Regions from separate parts of the Homo sapiens genome. Here region 2 is linked to region 1. The links are contacts of gene promoters, found by promoter capture Hi-C in blood cells and fetal thymus (Javierre and others, 2016). All regions are on one chromosome and are shown on one strand. The core of a region is centred on a gene start or on the middle of the fragment in contact, and the rest is flanking DNA. Distances in the headings are between cores, read along the strand shown. Region 1 holds the start of TGDS (TDP-glucose 4,6-dehydratase). Region 2 has its middle 6.1 kb from the start of GPC5.

The links. The method cuts DNA at HindIII sites, captures the fragments that hold promoters and counts their contacts. A CHiCAGO score of 5 or more calls a contact.
Region 2: a contact is called between a fragment that was not itself captured here and the fragment with the promoter of TGDS in region 1, in 2 of 17 cell types (naive B cells and total B cells). The highest score is 7.3, in naive B cells.

What each region holds. Positions count from the first base shown.
Region 1 is chr13:94,592,545-94,599,775 of GRCh38, reverse strand. It overlaps TGDS (TDP-glucose 4,6-dehydratase), which reads left to right and starts at 3,624. Exons shown (of 12, transcript NM_014305.4): 1 at 3,624-3,725; 2 at 5,869-5,935. The coding sequence starts at 3,640. RefSeq lists an enhancer at 3,451-3,760. The HindIII fragment of the contact is 5,991 bases long and covers 427-6,417 here.
Region 2 is chr13:91,388,894-91,396,124 of GRCh38, reverse strand. No RefSeq gene overlaps it. Among named protein-coding and RNA genes, the nearest start is that of GPC5, 6.1 kb to the left of the region's middle. The HindIII fragment of the contact is 4,750 bases long and covers 1,321-6,070 here.

The DNA.
Region 1 (7,231 bases), core at 2,375-4,874:
GGTTCAAGTGATTCTCCTGCCTCAGCTTCCAGCTGGAATTACAGGTGCACACCACCACACCTGGCTAATTTTGGATTTTTAGCAGAGACGGGGTTTCACTATGTCGACCAGGCTGGTCTCGAACTCCTGACCTCAAGAGATCCACCCACCTTGGCCTCCCAAAGTGCTGGGATTACAGGTGTGAGCCATCACGCCCGGCCATGTACTTTCATTTTCAATAAATCCCTGCTTTCGTTCTTTCGTTGCTTCATTCTTTTGTTGCTTCATTCTTGCCTTGCTTTGCTGTGCATTTTGTCCAATTCTTTGTTCAAAATGCCAAGAAACTGGACAACTTGCAGTCAAGACCCTCCACTGGTAACAAAAGTAGGAGCTCAAAATTATTTCATGAATAAATGTATATAAATTATTTTCATTTAACAACAAGCTTCTATAACATATAAGGAAGTTCTCATAACAGACCTCATCATTTAGAAAAAAAAAATATTGAGGAACCACCTCCTACCATATACACAGCATTTTCAGTATTTCTGGCTGACCAGGAATATGCTGGAAGTATTAATATTTTCGGATTTTTTAAAAAAAAACTGCGGCCGGGCGCGGTGGCTCACGCCTGTAATCCCAGCACTTTGGGAGGCCAAGGCGGGTGGATCATGAGGTCAGGAGATCGAGACCATCCTGGCTAACAAGGTGAAACCCCGTCTCTACTAAAAATACAAAAAATTAGCCGGGCGCGGTGGCGGGCGCCTGTAGTCCCAGCTACTGGGGAGGCTGAGGCAGGAGAATGGCGTGAACCCGGGAAGCGGAGCTTGCAGTGAGCCGAGATTGCGCCACTGCAGTCCGCAGTCCGGCCTGGGCGACAGAGCGAGACTCCGTCTCAAAAAAAAAAAAAAAAAAAAAAAAAAAAACTGCAAGGATTCTTTATTATGCAAGTAATCCATGTGTCTCAGAAAAAAATTCACAGTCAAAAGTATATAAAGTGGGCTGGGCGCAGTGGCTCACGTCTGTAATCCCAGCACTTTGGGAAGTGAGGTGGGTGGATCACCTGAGGTCAGGAGTTCAAGACCAGCCTGGCCAACATGGTGAAAACTCATCTCTACTAAAAATACAAAAACTAGCCAGGTGTGGTAGCATGCGCCTGTAATCCCAGCTACTTGGAGGCTGAGATGGGAGAATCGCTTGAACCTGGGAAGCAGAGGTTGCAGTGAGTCAAGATTGTGGCACTGCACTCCAGGCTGGGCAACAGAGCGAGACTGTCTCAAAAAAACAAAAGTATATAAAGTAAAAATTAAACTCCCCATTTCCTCCTTTCCCTGCCCATATCTCATCCCTAAAGGTAACTTATTTTAAGAGTTTAGGGTCAATCCTTTCAAGTAAGCCACAAATACCACAAATATATGTGGTATTACAAATACCACAAATATATGTGGTATTTGTAAACCAAGGACAGGAATAAAACTGGTCCTGAAGAGAAATCATAACACAGGCCTTGAATGTTAGGCCTTTCCTATCTTTTCTTTCTTCTCAATCAACTTTGTTTTTCTCACTGTGAAGACAGGCTTTCTGGCTCCTCACTTTGAAAGAACATGGCCACCAAAAAGTTCCAGCTTTGTAGGACCTCAGAGTTCAAGTAGAGTAACCAGACTATACTAGCACCTTAGTCGAATTCTAAATCCCAAGAAGAGGCTTCAGTTGGCCTAGAGTCAGCCAGATTTCATTCTGTGGCCTGCCTGGGTCAACTTGGGGAGATCATAAAGGACAGTGGGGGGAGGAGTCTGGTCAGAAAAAAACTGTACGTATCGACTGCAATATATTTTGGTCTTCATTCCATGTTGGTATATTCTTTTTAAAGGCTATATAGCAGTTTACTGCATTTTAAAAGTTAGAAGACATTATACACATTTAGATTATTTCCAGTGTTTCATTATTGCAAGCAATACAGCAATGAACAATTATCTATATTATACATCATGGAATTTGAGGGGGTCATAGAATATGAACATTTGAAATTTTCATATGTTTTACCACTTTGCCTTGTAAAAAGGTTGTGGTATGATTCTTCCACATATACACCTGTACTGGATGTTTCCATTCGTTTTCAGCTTTGCCAAACATTATGGTGGGGAAAAAAAGATATTTATCTATTCGACAATATTTAATGGTCATTTATTCTGTGCCAAGTCTCTAAGGACATGCGATTACAGCAGAAAACAAAACAAAGCCCCTGACCTCATGGAACACTAAACAGAGGGCAGTGACATCAATGTAAATGTTGAGTGCTAGGAAGAAAAATAAAGAAGGATAAGATGATTCGGCAGGGTTGGGCAGAGCTCGCTATTTTAATTGTGGTGGTCAATAGGATGCCATTCAAGCTGAAAACGGAAGTAAGGGTAAAAACTAGGCAGACATCTGGGGAAAGACAATCAAGGTCCCGGGGAAGTAGCATGCCTGGCACATTGAATGAAGAGCAAGGAGGGTGGGGAGGCTGGGGCGGAGTGAGCAAAGGAGAGAATAGAATAAGACATCAGCGTAGGACCTAGGGAATATCTTTATCATGATTGCAAGCCTTCTGCGCTGTCTGTAATAATAATATTATTATTTTTTGAGACGGAGTTTTGCTGTTGTTGCCCAGGCTGGAGTGCGATGGTGCGGTCTCGGCTCACTGCAACCTCTGCCTTCCGGGTTCAAGCAATTCTCCTGCCTCGGCCTCCCAAGTAGCTGGGATTACAGGCGCCCGCCACCACGCCCGGCTAATTTTTGTATTTTTAGTAGAGACAGGGTTTCACCATGTTGGCCAAGCTGGTCTCGAATCCTGACCTCAGGTGATCCGCCCACCTCGGCCTCCCAAAGTCCTGGGATTACAGGCGTAAGCCACGGCGCCCGGCCTGAAATAATATTAACAACAGCAAAAGATCATTTTGCAGGCCAGGCACGGTGCTCACGCCTGTAATCCCAGGACCTTGGGAGGCTGAGGCGGGAGGTTGGCTAGATCCCAGGAGTTCGAGACCAGCCTGGACAACAGGGCGAAACCCATCTCTACCAAAAATTAGGCGGGCGTGGTGGCGCACGACTGTATTCCTAGCTACTCAGGAGGCTGAGGTGGGAGGATTGCTTGAGCCCCATTGGTCGACGCTGCAGTGAGCCGTGATCGCACCACTGCACTCCAGCCTGGGTAACAGAGGGAGACCCTGTCCCCGCCCCACTAAAAAAAAAAATCATTTTTAAATTGCAACCTCCCATCTCCATCTGCAACAACTCCCCGTTCTCAGCTCAACTGATAGGTAACCTCTAGAGATGGCTGTAGTACAAGAATGAAAAAAGGTACTCATTCATAAATCTGATCCATAGTGGTGGCATTTCCGGGAAAAACGTTCCATACCCCTACCATCCGGGCGACCCCAATTGCACCTGGCGGACCAGGCAAGGGCGGAAAGGAGCAGCGCCTGCGCGTGGTGAGCGCGGCCCCGCCCAGCCCGCTAGTGGGCGGGCAGAAACTGGCCACAGAGCAGTCTCCGGAAGCTGCCTCTGGCTGCTCTGTTAACGTGTCCCGCGAGCGAGGCGCGTCGCAAAAGGTCGCGGCGGAACTTCCCTGCGCTTTTCAGACCATACTCTTTACGGTACTAGGCACTGCTGAGCTGGGAGATGTCGGCGGCGTGTTGGGAGGAACCGTGGGGTCTTCCCGGCGGCTTTGCGAAGCGGGTCCTGGTGACCGGCGGTGCTGGTTTCATGTAGGTAATGGCGCCGCTAGCCAAGCAGTGGCTCCCCAGAAACCCCTACCTTTTCCCGCAGCTCTGCTTGCCCTAGGTAATTTGGGTCCAGCTTTGAGGGGTCCTTATTCTGATATGGGGAGGGTCCTAATGCACGACCTGGACCAGCTTTTCTCTCTCTGGCCTGCAAAGAAGTGGTTCCTTTGAAACTGACTTCTTTAAAACGCCTCTTCCAAAGCTGCGTTACTCTCCGCCCTTCTGTGGCCGGAGGTGCTCACCATGTCACTCCTTGAGTGCGTGCAAGTTACCCTAAGCTGCTCACCGACTGCTTCCCACCTCCAGCCTAGAGCACCCACACCCCACGATGGGCCCTGTACATATAGGCACCCCCAAAACGATTTAAGGACTATAATAGGACATCTATGTAATCAGCAAACTTTTACAAATCCACTGTTGACACCCTTTTCTTCCTCAGACCCACATTCGAGCAGCAAGTCCTCTCTACTTCCAAAGTATATCCTTACGGCGACCACTTCTCACCAGTTTCCCGTTTCCACCCTAGCCCATGTTTACTGTCATCTTTTGCCTCGACTGCTGCTGTAGCCTCTTGGTTGGCCATAACTGCGTCCACTCATGTTCCTTTAAAGCCTGTTGCTCACATACAAGTCAGTGTTTCTTAAGTCAATCAGATCATGGTAGAAGCAGGATTTTACTTCAGTGGTTCCTGCCACACTTAAGAATAAAGCCCAAACTCTACCATATCTAGAAAACTCAAGTGCCCAAGCCCTACTTTTGCAACCTGATCTGCTTTTCTGTACCTGCCATGCTTCCCCTCTTAGTTCTTGGAACACACCAAGATACACACTTCTGTCTTGAGGCCTTTGCACTTGCTTCCCCTTTCCTTAGGCTGTTTGCACCACTCAATTCTGGTTTTTATTCAGATAGCACCTCAGAGAGTTCTTACCTGACCACCATATCTAAAATAGCCCCTCTCCCAACTAGCACACTTAACCTCTACCTGAAATTATATTGCGGATTTGTGTCTGCTTGTTTATTGCTTGTATCCCCACTCTAAAATGCAAACTCGGTAAGGACAGAGACTACTGTTCATTCAGCACCTGGAAGAATGCCTGGCCCATTCTATATAAGTCTTTAGTAATTGTGGAATGGATGAATGCAAGAGTAATAAACAGGAAACTCTCCTATCCTCCCCTCAAGGAACTCAGTGGCTAGTGGAAGAAGTGGGAATGTGAGGATTCCTGTTTATGGCCATTTGCACATTAAATCACCCCTTCTAATCCGACAAGTCATTTGGGGGAGAGCATCAGGCTGGCAAGTTTCACTTAATGAGAAAGAGGACTATGGACATGAAAGGGTGATACTTGTGTGAGAGTGCGGGTCCAGGAAGGGTGCGACTTAGAAAGTGCTGTGAAAGGAATGCCGAATACAAACTTCAAGTTCATAATTTGGTCAAGGGCTCCCCTCTCCTGGGAGCCCAACATTTTAAGTATACATGGTAAATCTGGTAGATCATTTCACTGAGATATGCCTGTGATTCCCCTTTAGGGTCCTCTGAAGCCCAGGACCCACTGTGGATATCCAACTCAGAATGGTTTCAGCTGTTATTAGCCTGGGAATCCTGGGTTTAGTCTAGAAGCCTCCTGAGGATTCTGGTTTAACATTACCAAAATCTTATACCAAGAAATAGCAATTGCAGAAGTTACTATTAAATATAGACAACTGACTATACTCATAGTAATTTCATTTTTACATACTTATATCTGCAGTTCCTGAAAAGGCATGCTATAGGCATGTACAGTTGTGCTGACTAGCTCCCATTTATTGTTCCACTTTACTCGATACTTGTACCTGTATGGATGGCATCGTTTGGTTAAACTGACTTTTTTCCCTATACCCAGAACCAGTACATTCTCTCTTCTGCATAGTCTAAATGGAATGTAAAACTTTTGTTTATAGATACTGTTGAGAAGTTTGGTAAAAAGTTTGCATGTGTGTATATTTAGTGTAGTTATGTTTTCTGTTATCTTAGAAAAAATTAAAGTTATCTTTGAGTATTTTCCTAGTACTCAACACCTTAGGAAAATATTCAAGAGTTTAGGGAAGTTAAAGTTTTTCACTAACAAGATATACTTTTTTTCCATAGTGCATCACATATGATTGTCTCTTTAGTGGAAGATTATCCAAACTATATGATCATAAATCTAGACAAGGTGAGTTTTATAAAAATGAGCATCATGCACTGAAATTACATTTCAATTTATGTTTTCTAAAAGTACTAGAATCTTGTCATGCTGATATTTAAATTTTTTATTTAGTCATTTTAGCAATTCAGAGGCTCTGTATAGTAATGTGCTCATGCTGTATTTAATCTTATATAAAAGTTTTTGAAACCTGCATTTCTTATGTTGGTCCACAAAATAAAGTTTTTGTTTTATTTTGTTTTTTTCAGTTGCTACTTTGCAAATGGACTTTTTGGATTTTCATTCAAAAAAACTATAAGAAAAATTCATAAGGCAATTTGGTGATTATAAGCCTTAATTGGATTTTTTTTCTATTTTTTAATTGACATATCTTAGTTGTACTTGTTATGGGGCATATGGTGATGTTTTGATACATGTATACAATGTGTAATGATCAAATCAGGGTAATTGGGACATCCATCATAAGAAGAACCCTTAACTCTTATGAAGCTTTGCCTGACTTGCTATTATGGACAGGAATTTTTTCTGTATCACCAATATACCAACAGTTTGAGGAATAGGTATAATGAATTATAATATGTATAACACAGGTGTAATTATTTTCAATCACTAATTCCTTTTCTGTAAGAAATGGTAAACTTTTCTAGCCACCAGTGGCTACAGGCAAATTTTGGCATGAACATTTTTTTTTTTCTTTGAAATGGACTCTCACTCTGTTGCCAGGCTGGAGTGCAGTGGCACAATCTCAGCTCACTGCAACCTCCACCTCCTGGGTTCAAGCGATTCTCCTGCCCCAGCCTCCTGAGTAGCTGGGATTACAGGCACATGCCACCAAGCCCAGCTAAATTTTGTATTTTTAGTAGAGATGGGGTTTCACGATGTTGGCCAGGATGGTCTCAATCTCTTCACCTGTGGTCCGCCCTCCTCAGTCTCCCAAAGTGCTGGGATTACAGGCATGAGCCACCACCCCCAGCTAGGAACATTTTTTAAAGTAGAGATTTATGAAAAGGTTTTTGTTTTGTTTTGTTTTTTGGTACTTTGAAAAGGTAACAATTACTTGTTTTTTACTTTTAAGATGTCAGAAACTTAAAATGTGTAAAAACAGGCTGGGCTCACGCTTGTAATCCCAGCACTTTGGGAGGCTGAGGCAGGCGGATCACAAGGTCAGGAGGTCAAAACCATCCTGGCTAACATGGTGAAACCCTGCCTCTACTACAAAATACAAAAAATTAGCCGGTCCATGGTGGCGGGTGCCTGTAGTCCCAGGTACTTGGGAGGCTGAGGCAGGAGAATGGCGTGAACCTG
Region 2 (7,231 bases), core at 2,446-4,945, 3.2 Mb after region 1:
CTTTCAAAATACCAATACCCTTGGATAGGAGAATCCTTAAATGGTCATTATTTAAAATACAGCTTAGTAATATTCTAAATCCAAAACTTCCCTGATACTTTCTATGTAACTGTTTATATGTTTATAGTTTGTCAACTTAGGACCTTGTAAAGAGAAATAAAAAACCTCGGCCGGGTGCGGTGGTTCACGCCTGTAATCCCAGCACTTTGGGAGGCTGAGGCGGGTGGATCACGAGGTCAGGAGATCGAGAGCATCTGGCCAACATGGTGAAACTCCATCTCTACTAAAAATATGAAAATTAGGTGGGTGTGGTGGCCCATGCCTGTAATCCCAGCTACTCAAGAGGCTGAGGCAGGAGAATCGCTTGAACCCAGGAGGCAGAGATTGCAGTGAGCCCAGATCGTGCCACAGGACTCCAGCCTGGGGGACAGAGTGAGACTCCATCTCACAAAAAAAAAGAAAGAAAGAAAACCTCCAGTGTGGTTTAGGTGATTTAATGATATCACAGAGTCTTCAACCCTGACTATTCTTTTAGGCTAAGACTGGCCACTAATTAGTTTACCCTCAGAAGCTGATTTGGGTAACTTTTATACCCAGTCAATGACAAGAGCTAAGATTTATTAAGCACTTACAGATATTATCTCATTTAACATTTCAACCATTCCATGAGACAGTTACTATTATACTACTGAGAAAACTGAAGTACAAAGAGATTAAATAACCTTCCAGAAATCCTGATAAGAGCCCAAATGCAAGCCAGGCTTCATAACTTTTGTACCCCTTTAGTCACTACACTCGCCTGCCTGAAAAGCCAGACACCTGGTTTGTGGCCCCTTGAACTCAACCTATCATATAAATATAAACTCTGGTACTCACAGCTATCCATGTGGACAACCTGCTGAACACCTTGGTTATAGTGGTCCAGAGCTCTGCATTGGCTTCAACGATGGCCTGATAGTACCTCACTGACGTGGGGCTGGCCAAGGTACTACCTGCTCCTACTTCCTACCTCCACTAAGCTTTTAACTAGGAGAACTGTTTTGCAAGCACTAAAATCCCACGAACTGCCTTGACATCTTTGAGCCTCACAGGTCCCTAGTCATGAGTTCTCCTGCTCTGGCCAGATATGCCCCCCACCCAGATGGAAAGTCTTGCTTGCTGGCTACCTCCCTTAGCTGGACCAGCTCCATCCCACCCTGTCTTCAACCTAATGGCTTTCACCTCCCTTCAGAGCAATTAGTCCAACAAGATAATCACATCCTCCTGTGGGAACCAAGGGGTCCTCCCCACAACACACCATCTTCTTGTTACTACAAAGCTTGCCTCCCACAACTCCTGCAGGTTCACTCTGCTCCCAAATGAAGCCCCTCCTCCCCTGTATGGCCCTGCATGGCATGTGGTAGCCTCCTCCCCTGGGCTATGAGTATGTGTGACTAACAAACTGCTGTAAATCTCATCTGTCCAGTCTTGTGTGTTTGATCATCTCGTATAATTTACAAAGGGGGATCCCTCTTTCATCAACTGGGTGAAAAGGAGGTTGTCAGAGAAAGAATATCCTTAATACAAATAACTTCCACTTCATTATTTCCAAAAAAGTGCTGACTTTTGTCTTGCCCTACCTTCTCTCTCCCTCCGATGTAGGCTCTAAGCCGTTGGTTGCACAATAAAGAGAACCAAGTTGGATGTCAGCCCGAGCTGCCCCAGTAATGAATTTCTGCCACCAAGTAACCAGGAGAAAATTGAGTGATACTCCCCTGAAATCTCCTCTAGTGAAGATAGTAATGGTTCTGTTAAAAAAAAAAAAAATCACCACCGGGCACAGTAGCTCTCGCCCGTAATCTCAGCACTTTGGGAGGCTAAGGCAGGAGGATCACTTGAGCCCAGGAGTTTGAGACCAGCCTGGGCAACATAGGGAAACTCTGTCTCTACAAAAATTCCAAAAAAATGGCCAGGCATAATGGCACATGCCTGTAAGCCCCAGCAGCTTGGGAGGCTAAAGTAGGAGGATCACTTGAGCCCAGCAGGTTGAGGCTGCAGTGAGCCATGTTCGCACCACTGCATTCCAGCCTGGGTAACAGCGTGAGACCCTGTCTCAAAAGAAACGAAAAAAGAAGAGAGGAGAGGTGAGGCGAGGTAAGGCGAGGCGAGGAGAGGAGAGGAGAAGGCAAGGCTGCCTAAAGGAGAGACTACACAGCAAATAAAATATTACATAAAATACTCAAAACCAGACACCAAACTGAAATTAACATGACAGTCAGTGGGAATCTTTGATCAGCAAACATTTTCAAAAATCACACACACACACACACACACGTGTCAGTATACCACTAATGTGTATATATATACACACACATGTGTGTCTGTATACCACTAATCTATATTTTCAGTTTGAAAATCCTCATAATCATCAGTACATGTTTATCAATGATTTTTAAATATTTTAGATGTACTTATGTCATTATCTCATAGTGAGTGTGCTTCAAGGCAAAGACAATGTTAACTATTTCACAAAAAGCCTTAAATAAATACTGTTACTGTGTGAAAATTTCAAAAGTATTTTGTACTATCTTTAATTTTACATGTTTTATATTTGCAATTTCTAATGAAAGACATTTCATTTCTTTCAGAGAACTTATGGAGAAATAAAAATAATAGTTGCTTTCAAAAAGAGAATCTACAGTATTAGAAAGAAGACTAGGAAAAGAAACCAGCAACACTCAATGATTTTATGAAGCCAAATGTCTTCAAATAATTTTCTTCTAGTCTATAATGTAAGAATGTTAAAACCGTGTCCCTCAAAGTTGCAATATACATTGCATGTGTAAATTGTATGTATAATTACAACATAATGGAAATGAATATACTACACATTTCTCTCACTTTCAAATGTTGGTTTTGCACCAACTATTTTTGGTTTCCAAATAGAGTGAAATTTACATCCAGAATTTCATTGTATCATTAATTATATCAACAGCTTAAGGAAAAATAATTATATTAACCAATAAATCCAGTTGTTAACTACATGAAATACATAATCTTGCTTAGGTGAATGTTTTCCAGAAATTAAACTAGGGAAAAAGTCTCTAACCTTTATAAGATTGTATACCTAATGTTGCTGGCTGTTTAACCTGAGAACTAAGGGGCCACAAGAGTTTATCTGCCAGATGATAAGCCTTCTGAGGTCAAGTGAGCCTGCGCATATCCACTTCTACCCTCTGTAGTCATTGCATAACTTTATTGAATGAATTTGGCTGCTATAAGGTTGATAATCTCATGTGTCCTATGTTATCTTTATTAAAATCTTTGATTCTTTTTTAAGCAGCAGTCCACTTTTTAACTTCACTTAATCCCTAAATTATTATATTACTTTCAAAGTGGAAAATTCACTATCTGATAGAATAGTATCAATAAACATCTTCAAAACCAGGTTGTAATTTCTCAAGCTATTTGTGATCACTTCATCTTCTAGATTTGACTTTCAGTAAATCTTTAATGTCTGTTTCACTTCTTGTCATTACTTTTTATGATTAAAAATTTGAGGTAGATGTTTTAAAATGTTAATGTTACCACTAAATGAATTATTCAATCAAGAGATAAAGAATTATTTTCCTAATTAATTTCCTGCAACTTTGACATTATACTATCTTAAATATTTTCAGATAAAATTACTTTTAATGCTAGTTATCAAATATTCTCCAGAATGGGTATTCATTATCTGTGTCACTTTGGTGGTTGTTAAAACCACTCTGATATTTCCTTTACTTACTATGTAAAATGAGGGGAAAACACAACATCTATGTTATAATGTTGATAGGGTTAACTGAGATAATATATGTGAAGTATTTTGTACAATTCTTGGATTATGTGACCACTCAATAACTAGACATTATTCTTCTTCCCCACTTGAAAAAAATACCTGCCATTAATTTGTGCTCTATTAGTTACATCCTAGAGGTATTTAAGGTAATAAGCCCTCTCCTCTAAACTCAATAACAATTCAAAAGTAAAACCTCTTGCCCTCCCCATATTTGTAATATGGTTCTTTCATGTCGTATAGCAGTTATGCACCTATCAAACTATTTTTTTGAGTAATGGAACAAATGAGCATCATCTCAACTCAACGTAGGTACAGGAGATTTTAAGTTGCTCAAGGTCATGAGCTAAAAGTCATTTTTAAAGGTAAAAGAGTCACTCTTCTCTGAACATAATGAGCACTTAGAGCAGGATCTGGAAACTAATTATCATCAGCTTTTTAAGATGCAAAATGTAGACTCTCTCCTAATAATTAAGCCTTATAATTGATAATTATCTTTGATTAATGAGTAGGAAGTTTTTCCAGAGGCTTTCGCTGCTGTGTACCATTGTCATAATTGATCTTTAATTGTTCCATGTAAGAATCCCTTTTATCATGTTTAATCTCTGCTATTTATAAATAAGGACCATGTACCACCCTTATTAACTCTCCCTAGATGTAATATTACTTTACAATTGTCTTTCCAATTTAATTAATATTCGGCTTAATTCTTTACATTTGCATATGAAAAGGTACAAGCAGTTCATGCTATCAAGCAGAAAGGAGAAACCCTTTGCTCTGACCACTTTTGAATTCTCTTCTTGATCCAAATTTTGAGAGAAGAGAGAACAATACTCTCTCTGGATATGCCAGAGGAGACTGTACATCATTGCCATCTTTCTGCTTCTGGATAATGTATTTAGGCCCTTCTTATCTTAGGAAAATATGTATCATTTCATCTGGGCTCTGTTTCCTATATAGCATCCTAGTTTTTCCTCACTTTCCTTTTCCTGCCAATATTTCCAAATGATCTAGCTACTTTCCTGATCTCTGTATATCAGATTAGTCCGAAACCACACGGCCAACTTTTTTCATATATCTGCTGAGTCTGACATTGCTAAACACTCTCGTAAAATTTCTGTCCCCTTCAGCTTTCCTGAAAATTCACCGTCCTCAGTCTTCTCCTAGCTCTCCAACATTTCTTTGTCTATTCTTTTGCCTATTTTCTACCTTTCCCCTGCCTCCAAATTTCCCAAGACTTATGCCCTAGGCCTTGCTTTTCTAGTTATTCTTCCTAGGAAGGTGTCCTGGGTTAAATAGTTTCCCCTCAAAATTCATGTCCACCCATGCATTTTGAATATCAGAATGTTACTTTATTTGGAGCTGGGATCTTTGCAGGTGTTATTAATTAAGGATCTTAAGATGAAATCATCCAAGATTTAAATCCAATGACTGGTGTCCTTATAAGAGGAGACGCAGACAGAGAAGGAGGAGATATGAGATGGAGGCAAAGATTAGAGTGATTCAGCTGCAACCCAAAAAAATGCCAAGGATTGCTGTCAACCACCTGACGTTAAGAGAGGAATGAGCCTGATGTGGTATTTGGTTTTCTTTCCTTTGTTAGTTTGCTGAGGATAACTAGGTGATGGGTTGATAGGTGCAGTAAACCACCATGGCACACGTTTGCCTGTGTAACAAATCTGCACATCATGCACATGTAATCCCAGAACTTAAAATAAAATTTTTAAAAAAGAGGAATGAGATGGCTCTTCCCTCGGAGCCTCCAGGAGGAACCAACCCTGCTGACATTTTGATTTCAGACCTATGGATATTTCTGGAAACTTGAAAGAATACAATTCTGTATTAAGCCCCCAAGTTTGTGGGTTTGGCAGCCCTAGAAAATGAATACTGAAGGCTTACGCCTTCACCTCTAGCATCTGTGCTAAATATCCAGAGACGTTTCTCTCTAGGTCTGGCCTCTTATCTACCCCATCTGCTTTTTAATTTGGGTATTCTACCATCATCTCAAACTCTATTTTTAACAAAGGGATGTTATTATCTTCTCCCCAGTTCACACTCTCCCTTATCCATTGTTAAACTTATTGACAAACACAAGAGCCTGAGGTCTGTTCTTTTTGTTAATAAAATCATCCGTGCTAAACCAGAATGTTCATATTCTTTCTCCTTTATTACCTCTACGTAATATAAATTACATGACTTATCAAGTCATCCACTTTTCTCTCATATTCATCTTCTTCATTCCAACGTCCCCAAGCTTTCTCTTTAAATTACCAGTGGATTGCACTAGCCCCAGAGTGGGGTCATCACCTACACTGTCTTTCTGGTCTAAATCATTCTCCATCCTAGGCCCATGTCAGTCCATTTGCATCAGGCTTTTATATTAATATATATATGCTACATAATATATTTAGTATATTATAAATATACTAAAAAGTGCTAATTGGTTATTTCTAGTTTATTATATACTATATATTATATACTATATATTATATACATATGTATATATTAGTGTAATGTATATTGGTGGCAAACCAGAGTCTAGCATCTACCTCTGTATTTCTTCAAATATAGTTCAGGGAATGCCAGTAACATATTCACTTGGAGTATTAGAATGCAGATTCCTGGGTCTTATCCAAAATCAGATTCTTGGTTTGGGATCTGGGCTATTCTCATAAAATTCTCATGAAAGCTCAACATTTAAATGTATTGAGTTCCCTTTACTTTTATTTAAATTCACTCTTCTTCCTACATAAACTCTGTTTCTTCTGGAGGCAGAAAAATCCACCACTTATCTTCCCTAAAATGTGCCTTGCTCATTTCAACTTGAAGCATCACTTAAGCCTGGAATATTTCCTTCTTGCTCTCCACCTCTCTTTCGTTAAAAGCTCCACTCAAGTTGCTTACTCATCACAAGGAATTTTCCAGCCATGCAACTCCACACTATTCTCTTCCACCTCTGGGTTCCTATCACATGTTATTGTGCCAGTTACTATGTACTGATTAATTATATGTCATTATTTAGGTAAACATGCCATTACAGGTTTGTTTCCTTAAGAAAATCTTAAGCTGCTCCAGATTCTGCACAGGATCTAGCGCATAACAGGAACTCAGTAAATGTTTTCTAAATTAGTGCTTGAAAGAAAGGCCAGGGGCAGCATCTTGAAAAGCTCACAAATGCATATAGGACACTCAGATGTAGACCACTTTGTTAGGAAGTACACTAATGGGGATGAATACTTATACTCCTATTCATTCCACTTGAGTACAACTATGAAGGTTGACTGATGATAATGTAACAATGATACCATGTCTTATATTTGATCTTCAAGAATGTGAGAGCAGATAACCAGGCTTAAACTATTAAAGTTATATTTTCTACTAGTCTAATAGCCACTGAATTATTGTTAATACAACAAA